2 separate regions of the Homo sapiens genome follow, and region 2 is linked to region 1. Evidence: promoter capture Hi-C in human tissues and cell types (Jung and others, 2019). All regions are on one chromosome and are shown on one strand. The core of a region is centred on a gene start or on the middle of the fragment in contact, and the rest is flanking DNA. Distances in the headings are between cores, read along the strand shown.

The links. Contacts are between HindIII fragments. The study calls those that stand out against the background at their distance.
Region 2: a fragment that was not itself captured here is called in contact with the fragment with the promoter of PEX6 in region 1 in 1 of the 25 tissues and cell types used here (IMR-90 fibroblasts).

Annotation. Positions count from the first base shown.
Region 1 is chr6:42,977,176-42,981,993 of GRCh38, reverse strand. PEX6 (peroxisomal biogenesis factor 6) reads left to right here and starts at 2,813. Exons shown (of 17, transcript NM_000287.4): 1 at 2,813-3,725. The coding sequence starts at 2,844. It overlaps LOC124900215 (a long non-coding RNA gene), which reads left to right. Exons shown (of 2, transcript XR_007059580.1): 2 at 1,151-1,452. RefSeq lists silencers at 554-772, 2,011-2,207, 2,862-3,241 and enhancers at 2,402-2,451, 2,612-3,553. The HindIII fragment of the contact is 12,677 bases long and covers 1-4,818 here.
Region 2 is chr6:42,690,892-42,695,709 of GRCh38, reverse strand. It overlaps UBR2 (ubiquitin protein ligase E3 component n-recognin 2), which reads right to left. Exons shown (of 47, transcript NM_001363705.2): 47 at 2,205-4,678. The coding sequence ends at 4,537. Among named protein-coding and RNA genes, the nearest start is that of PRPH2, 29 kb to the left of the region's middle. The HindIII fragment of the contact is 3,806 bases long and covers 617-4,422 here.

The DNA.
Region 1 (4,818 bases), core at 1,564-4,063:
TTGTAGGAGGACAACTGGTGTCATAATGGCAAAGGAAATAAAAGACAATTGGTCAGTAGTGTCAGAGAAAGAACAGCATCATCTTGATTCTGCAATTAGAAGATTATGGGTGATTTTTTCAGAGAGTGGAAGACCGTTTTTAGTGAGTGGAAGAGTGAGCATCAAGAGGTGAGGAAGTGAAGATGGCAAATGTAGGGTCCTGGCGATCTTACAGAAGTAGTATTTGGCTTTCGGTGACTAATGACGATTTCAGGGTAACACAAAGTGGACTACATGCCCGCTGTTACCTGCTGGGAGAAAAGCTTGGGAGAAAAGGACATTTATTTGTGGGTGGGTATTTGTGTCTGTATGAGTGCTGATCCAGGCAAGATAACTGATGTTTTTACCCATCTCCAAGGCCTCAAGGAGCACTATAGTCCTGAGGCCTAGAGCTTGCCTGCTACTGAGGAAAGCAGGCATATCCTCTTTAGGCCCATGTACCATCTATCTAGCCCTTGGTTCCTCTGGGACATAGGGGACCAAGAAACATATAGTAGCACTACCAAATGGGAACTTTCATCCATGTGAATCTAGGTACCTAGAACATTCTTTATTTAGTTTTTTTTTCTTTTAATTTTATATATTTTAAGAGACAAGGTCTTGCTCTGTCACCCACTTGGAGTGCAGTGGCACAATCATAGCCTCAAATTCCTGGGTTCAAGTGATCCTTCTGCCTCAGCCTCCCCATAGCTGGGATTATAGACACAAGCCATGGTTCCTGGTTAGTACATTCTTGCATGCTATTTTATTTATTTTTTTCTATTATTTATTTTTTTGAGACGGAATCTCACTCTGTCACCCAGGCTGGAGTGCAGTGGCGCAGTCTCGGCTCACTGCAAGCTCTGTCTCCCGGCTTCACGCCATTCTCCTGCCTCAGCCTCCCGAGTAGCTGGGACTACAGGCACACACCACCATACCCAGCTAATTTTTGTATTTTTAGTAGAGACGGGGTTTCACCATGTTGGCCAGGCTGGTCTCAAACTCCTGGCCTCAAGCAGTCCACCCACTTGGCCTCCCAAAGTGCTGGGATTACAGCCATGAGCCACTGCGCCCAGCCCCTTATAATATGCAAATCTAATAGTTTTCATATATTTGTCTTTCAAATTTTCAGGAATGTATAATGTACAAAATAGAAGACTGCCTCAAGAAGAAAGGAGAGATGGAGAAAGCTGAGCAGTAGCTGAAAGAGAATGTAAGGTCTAGAAAATGGAGATTGGCACCATCCAATTCATTTATTGTAAGTGAAAATAATTGTTAATAATTGGAAATGCAGTGGGACATGATGGCTTATGCCTGTAGTCCCAGCACTTTGGGAGGCTGAGGCCTGAGGATCTCTTCAGACCAGGAGTTTGAGACCAGCCTAGGCAACACAGAGAAACTCTGTCTCTACAAAAAATAAAAAATTAGTCCAGGCGCAGTGGCTCATGCCTGTAATCCCAGCACTTTGGGAGGCGTAAGCAGGTGGCTCACTTGAAGCCAGGAGTTCGAGACCAGCCTGACCAACAGGGTGAAACCCCGTCTCTACTGAAAATACAACATTAGCTGGGTGTGGTGGCACACACCTGTAATCTCAGCTACTTGGGAGGCTGGGGCAGGAGATTCTTTGAACCTGGGAAGCGGAGATTGCAGTGAGCTGAGATCGTGCCATTGCACTCTGGCCTGGGCAACAAGACCGAAACTCCGTCTCAAAAAAAAAATTGGCTGGGTATGGTGGCGTGTGCCTGTGGTCCCGGCTACAGTTACTCGGGAGGCTGAGGTGGGAGATCACTTGAGCCTGGGACGGTAGAAGCTGCAATGAATGGGGATCGTGCCACTGTACTCCAACCTGGGTGACAGAGTAGGACCCTGTTGCCATAAAAAAGGAAATGTGGCCTACCACTAGCTGAGTGTCTTGTACAGAACAGTGGAGGTGAAGAGAAGGATGGAATCTAAATAACAGCACACGCAGGAAGTCGACTGTTGGTGTTATGCTGACAGAAGCCTTGAACTCCTTTCCTTCTGCCTGCTCTGCTGCCTGCCCCGCTCTAGGATAGAAAGTGAATGGGTTTCCGATCTGCAAGGATTTGGGGGGGGGGGGTGAAAGAAAAGCTGTTTTGTCTTCAACTTAAGTTTGGTGGGAGTAAAACAAACAGAACAATGAACAGGGCAAGAAGTCCTGGAACATGGGTTTTGTGCCAGATGTGCTGGAACATGTGTGGTGGCACCAAGCACTCCAGGGCTGTATGAATCACATCTAGTAATTCACTCAGCAGCCACTATATACCTATAAGCAAGTGTGAGACAGTTTTCTAATCCTGCTACTCCCTCCTGCAACCTTTCCTGCAACCCTCAAACCTCAGTGCTCACAGTTCCACAGGGGAAGCTGCAGGAGCTCCGCAGAGGAGCGGACTCCTTCCGAAACATTTCACCTAGAGCTCCCAGTACTGGGCCCAGTCATCCCGAGCATGCTGACTGTTCATTTATCAGTCAATAAACTGTTACGTTCATGCCACGGGGAAAAATAGTTAAGAGAACATTACTTCCGTAGAAGGCAAAGATAAATCCCTTAAGCACAAGTTCAAATGGCGCATGGGTAAACGCTACGCAACCGCAGCGATGAAGGTTACTGCCTATCGAGGCACGACGCAGATCAATCCGAGGCGCAGCTAACCCCCTCAGAGCAAGTTCGCGGCACCCGACCCCCCTCCCCTTTTCCTCTGGCCTCCCCTGACGGAAGCGGAAGCGGCCCTCGCGCACACTAGTCGTCTGGCTCTCTGGCTCCGGAAGCTGCGCTCCTTCACCCTCCTCGTTGGTGTCCTGTCACCATGGCGCTGGCTGTCTTGCGGGTCCTGGAGCCCTTTCCGACCGAGACACCCCCGTTGGCAGTGCTGCTGCCACCCGGGGGCCCGTGGCCGGCGGCGGAGCTGGGCCTGGTGCTGGCCCTGAGGCCTGCAGGGGAGAGCCCGGCAGGGCCGGCGCTGCTGGTGGCAGCCCTGGAGGGGCCGGACGCGGGCACCGAAGAGCAGGGTCCCGGGCCGCCGCAGCTACTGGTTAGCCGCGCGCTGCTGCGGCTCCTGGCACTGGGCTCCGGGGCCTGGGTGCGGGCGCGGGCGGTGCGGCGGCCCCCGGCGCTAGGTTGGGCACTGCTTGGCACCTCGCTGGGGCCTGGGCTCGGACCGCGAGTCGGGCCGCTGCTGGTGAGGCGCGGAGAGACCCTCCCAGTGCCCGGACCGCGGGTGCTGGAGACGCGGCCGGCGTTGCAAGGGCTGCTGGGCCCAGGGACTCGGCTGGCTGTGACTGAGCTCCGCGGGCGGGCCAGACTGTGTCCAGAGTCTGGGGACAGCAGTCGGCCCCCACCCCCGCCCGTGGTGTCCTCCTTTGCGGTTTCTGGCACAGTGCGGCGACTCCAGGGAGTTCTGGGAGGGACTGGAGATTCACTAGGGGTGAGCCGGAGCTGTCTCCGTGGCCTTGGCCTCTTCCAGGGCGAATGGGTGTGGGTGGCCCAGGCCAGAGAGTCATCGAACACTTCACAGCCGCACTTGGCTAGGGTGCAGGTCCTAGAACCTCGCTGGGACCTCTCTGATAGACTGGGACCCGGCTCTGGACCGCTGGGAGAGCCCCTCGCTGACGGACTGGCGCTTGTCCCTGCCACTTTGGCTTTTAATCTTGGCTGTGACCCCCTGGAAATGGGAGAGCTCAGAATTCAGGTAGGATAAAGGACTGGGGTCAGGAGTGCTTCCTCTTTCTTATACCCTCTTCTCTGTCTTAGGTAAATTGGAAGATTTAGGACTCGTGCCCCATATCATCCCGGACTTTGAACATAATGTTTCTAGCCGGGCGCGGTGACTCACGCCTGTAATCCCAGCACTTTGGGAGGCCGAGGCGAGCGGATCACTTGGGGTCGGGAGTTCGAGACCAGCCTGACCAACATGGAGAAACCCCGTCTCTACTAAAAAAATGTAAAATTAGCCGGGCGTGGTGGTGCATGCCTCTAATCCCAGCTACTTGGGAGGCTGAAGCAGGAGAATCGCTTGAACCTGGGAGGCGGAGGTTGCGGTGAGCCAAGATCGCGCCATTGGACTCCAGCCTGGGCGATAAGAGTGAAACTCTGTCTCAAAAAAAAAAAAAAAAAAGCATAATGTTTCTTAGCCTCATTTATCTATTTTCTTTTTCTTTCTTTCCTTTTTTTTTTTTTTTTTTTTTTTTTGAGATGGGGTCTTGCTCTGTCACCCAGGCTGGAATGTGGTGATGCGATCTCGGCTTACTGCAACCTCCGCCTCCCAGGTTCAAGCGATTCTCCTGTCTCAGCCTCCTACTACTGGCTCGCGCCACGACGCCCGGCTAATTTTTGTAATTTTTAGTAGAGACGGGGTTTCACCGTATTGGTCAGGCTGGTCTCGAACTCCTGACCTCAGGTGATCCACCCAAAGTGTTGGGATTACAGGCGTGAGCCACCTCACCCGGCCTATTGATCCATATTCTGTAATCAAAATATCATAAGCCTCCATAATGTAGTGGGGCATACAAAAGGCTTTCATCCATTCAGGTGAAAGGTGAAGTTTGGGTGTGGTGGTGCATGCCTGTAATCCCAGCTACTTGGGAGGCTGAGGCAGGAGAATTGTTTGAACCTGGGAGGTGGAGGTTGCAGTGAGCCCAGATCACACCACTGCACTCCAGCCTGGACGACAGAGCGAAATTCTGTGTAAAAAAAAAAAAAAAAAAAAGTGAGGTTTCAGATGTGTATGTTAATCTACTCAATCTAATTAGTTTATTGAATTGCTACAATGTATTCAGTATTGT
Region 2 (4,818 bases), core at 1,270-3,769, 290 kb after region 1:
GTCCTTAGGTGATCTGCCCGCCTTGGCCTCCCAAAGTGCTGGGATTATAGGAGTGAGCCACCTGGCCCAGCTAGCTTTTAAAGTTCTGCCAGCATAGCCCCGGGATGGGGTGGGGGTAGACAGGGCCTTAGGACTTTCATTTTTAAAATGCTCACTCCACGGTGAAGAAACAGGTGATGACTATCCTGAATATTTGGGAAGCTGTGTCCTAGAATTTTTGGCCTCAGTTCCAGAACCCACAGCTTCTTTACAACATGCTTCAAGCCTGGGACTGAGCTGCCAGTAAATAAACCCCTAGTAACCTTAATATGGGTTAATAAGATTAGGTGCCCGCTCTGCACGCTCCCCTGCCCCTCCTCGTCCGGGCACCTGTTACACTAGGCCAGCATGTTTGCAGCTTAGCCAGGGAAAATCGTGGACCAAGACAGGGCTTTTCATCCACGACTGGCTAAAAAGATGGCTCTCAATGACAGCGCAGGCAGGCAGCACCACTGTGTTAGGAAGAGAAAAGTGTCTGTCCAATACTATGAAAGTCCAGGGAAGAGACAAGTGCCTTCCCAGGTCACAATGGATAGATTGGCTGGAAGGGGAAAAACATGTCAGTTCTTAACTCCTGACAGCATTTTATCCTGTCCATCACAGAGGACTGTAAACAGCAAAGTTACAGATTAGAGAATGCTGAGCTCTCAGGATGGCATCAAATGGAGGATTAAGATGTAAGGGACAACTTCTAGCTATTTACCTGAGGGAAGTGAAAATTCAGGTTTGTACAAAAACCCATCCATGAATGTTTGTAGCAGTAATCACCAAAACAATCACCCAAACTCACCCAAATGCCCTTCATCTGGCAACTGCCCAGAAGTCTGTACAACGGAATGCTACTCAGCAATCCAAAGGAACAGGGAGGACCCGAATGCATTCTTCTTTAGTGAGAAGCCAGACTCAAAATGCTACATATGATACAATTCCATTTATATAACATTCGGGAAGAGACAAAACAAAGGGAGAGAAAAACACTGGTAGCTGAAAGCCAGGATGAGGCAAGAAGCTGACTACAAAGGGGACTTTTGGGGAAGATGGAATTGTTCTATTTCTCGATTGTGGTTGTTTAACTGTATGCATTTGTTAAAATGTATAAAACTGTACACTAAAAAGAGTTAATCTGTTTGTAAAATATACCTCAATAAATGTGACTTAAAAAACAAGAGTAGGAACAGGCCAGGCACAGTGGTTCACACCTATAATCCTAGCATTTGGGAGGCTGAGGCGGGAGAATCATTTGAGCCCAAGGGTTCAAGACCAGCCTGGGCAACATAGCGCGGCTGTATCTACAAAAAAAATACAAAAATTAGCCAGGTGTGGTGGCATGTGCCTCTATAGTACCAGCTACTGGGAGGCTGAGGTGGGAGGATTGCTCGAGCCCAGAAGGTTGAGGCTGCAGTGAACCAAGGCTGTGCCACTGCACTCCAGCCTGTGGGACAAAGCAAGACCCTGTCTCTTTAAAAAAACCAAACCAAACCACCACCACACCAAAATCAAGAGTAGGAAGACAGGGAGGAGCATGTCAGAAGGGGCTTCATGAGTTCCTGGAACTAAAGACAAGAGTGGTGAAGGCAGTAGGCTGGGAGCAGTGTTACTGACCAGGAGGCAGGGTGAGTGCAATGGAAACCTTGCTGTTTTAGTTTGATGCTCTCAAGAGGATTTCAAAAAAAACAGAATTCTCATGGGCAATGACTCCCCTAGGAAGACAGTGTAGCTGCCTTTCTATGTCTCTCTCTCAAAAGCAGGAAGTGGTCATAAAAAAAAGAAAAAAAAAACCTCCAACAGCCCTGAAAAACCAGCCAGCACACTAGGGGAGTGTGTAAGGACAAGGACCTTGAGATCACCAGGTAAGGATGAACAAGAGTTTAAACCCAGACACAGGTCTTGGAGTGCCCTGTTTCCCAGTGATTTGAGTTCCAAAATGGTCCACAAAGGTCACACGCTGTCATGGCTAATGAATATGAAACTTAATCAGCTGAAATGATGATCACACTTTCTCTGAGAAGGTCAAGATAGTTTGGCTAGTGGCCATAATAATATAACCCTCTTAAATTTAAAGCTAATACAGATATCCCACTATATTTGTAGCAAGGTGACACGGGCACCTTGCTGTGGCAGGTAAATGTGTAAAATGAAACAGAAAGATATATGCTAACCAAAAGTAATGCCAACACCTAAAGCATTTATTTGGATATCTTTAAACTTTTTACATATGATACATTCCAAATTTTACAAGTTGTCCACAGATATTAAAGTTATAGCCAATTTATTAAACAGATATGATTTTCCCTGATATGGAAAGCGTATGTTATATAAACATTTCTACAATAAACATAAAACATGCGGAACAAATCATAAAACTAACATGATTTGTAAGGTAGGAAAGACAACTAGCTTAACACCAGAAAATAAAAAGGTGTGTATGTTGCAATTTCATGTAAATTCATCTTCTCCCAGGCTCTGTGATATTCTCAGAGAATGAAATCCAGAGACAACCTTTGCTAACTCCAGGCTCCTAGGAAGTCGGACCGGAAAGCTGGAGTATTGTTATGATTTGGTGAAAATGTTTATAATCCACTTGTACAGAGAGAAACCTGGTCTTATTATTTTAAATTTTAGCTTGGTGAACATATGAAAAAAAGCCAAAAGAAGCTTACCTTAAAAGCTAAAGAAACTGGATGTGACAGAGGCCAAAATAAACATGAATTATGCCACCTACAGCCCAAACAACCAGATCTTATGAATGAAGGCCAGAAAAAGGGGGAGAGAGGTGGACTCAAATGTGAATTTTCTTTCTATTGGTCCTCCTCTCAGCTGGGTGAGTCAGTCCCACGCAAGAATGGCGACGGTCATCCTCCTGTCAAGAGGGGGCGGTTCTTTCACACACTACCTTGGAGAGGAATGTGGCTTCTACATCCTCACTTCTTTTAGCTTCAGTTCCAGATTTCTGACCTTCTTCCTGTGATACTGTGGAGCATGCCTAGTTGACTGGTAGCTGAGTGGAACAAAACTTGTAGATGTAATTCAAAGAAAACTGATTGAAAGGGTCAGTTGCATTGGTTAAAAAAATCCAAGAGCCTCTTATTACTCATCTGTTCCTTAGCCCCACCTTAGACAGGCTCAGAATTTATTCCTCTACTAAGTCTTCAGTCACTCTCTGCATGTATTCAAGCTCTCAGCAGTCATACATCAAACAATAGTAGTTGTGTGGTACATAATAATTATAAGCTATTTTGTAAGTGGCTCTTGTTCTAGGAAGGCACCTCAGTAAGAACAATGATCAAAAAGAATAAAAAGCCTGGGTGCCAGACCATCCCAGGAATGCACTAAGTGAGCCAGCAAGGAAGCAGCAGCTTGTCTGTTCCAGGAAATGCTGGCTGGGTGGGAGTGGGTTCTCACCTTCTTCAGTGTTTGGCTTTAGATGATATACTCTGCCAATTTAGCCTTAGAAATAACAAGAGAATATCACTGTCTGAAACATTAGGGTATTCTAAAAGAATACAGATAAGAAAATTAGGATACTCTTTTAGAATACCTATTATTTTAAACTTAAGCTTGGTGAACATCTGAAAAAAAGCCAAAAGAAGCTTACCTTAAAAGCTCAAGAAACTGGATGTGACAGAGGCCAAAATAAATATCACTTATGCCAACCACAGCCCAAACAACCAGATCTTATGAAGGAAGGCCTCTCATCTAGATATTAGGATATCTAAAAGAATATCCTAAATTTTTAATCCATATTCTTTTAGAATATCCTAATTTTTCTTCCTAATTCTAAAAGAATATCCTAATTTTTTAGACCATCCTAAGTTTTTGGAAAGCCCTCTAAGTGAGTTTTCTCAAAGCCAAAAGTCTTGCCATAAAAAAAAAAAGAAAAAAAAAAAACCTCTAACAGCCCTGAAAAACCAGCCAGCACACCAGGAATCCACCTTCTCCCCACGGGCTTCTTCTGCATGTGTGTCCCCCAACTCTCTCATAGTCAATGGAGAGAAGGGAACACTGCCTTCAAAATCAACCACTTTGCTCCTAGGAGTAGGGTCCTGTCAGCAGAGGGGACACCAACCCAGTCCCAGTGTTGGGCCACTCAGTGGAACCAGGAAGTATGACCCAACAGACCACAGAGACTTTGTTCCCTGCCTCCGTTGAGTCAGCTTCGGACCCACGGTTCACTATCATCAATAACGTGAAATATCACATAATGGCTGGGACTATGCAGTCAGACCCCCACAAAGGGGCTGGGATCCAATCTAGGAAGAGAAGCTCCTTGCTCGATCTTAAAACCCAAGACATTATATTTGAGGGGCACAGCAAACAGTGCAAGAAAATCTGCTGATGGAAGATGATTTTCATCAGTCCTCAGAACCAGAAACTATAAAACTGGGAAGGAAAGTTTAAATAAAGAATTTATTTCCAAATTCAGCAGAACTTCTTTCTTTCTTAAAAAGCCAACTGGGTTAAAAAAATCCAAGTTTGTGTTTTTTGGTGGTGCAATAATTATAAATGTTGCCAGTCAATGCCAACCAGTGTCTGATTGGCTTCCTGTGCATGTCCAATTTCCTCTGTGACACTGTGTTGGTGCCAGAGCTTCTGAATCTTCTTGAATCGCTCTTTGCATAAATGTAAAGGATTTCCCCGTCTAGAAAGAGAAGACACATGTCACTCAGAATGTGTTCTGTTTATTCCTCTATTATAACCCAACCCTTCCTGATTTAGGCAAGGTTACAAGTTATTGGTTTTAGACTCCCTGCAACATTTCTGTCTGGCAGGTGACTGTGG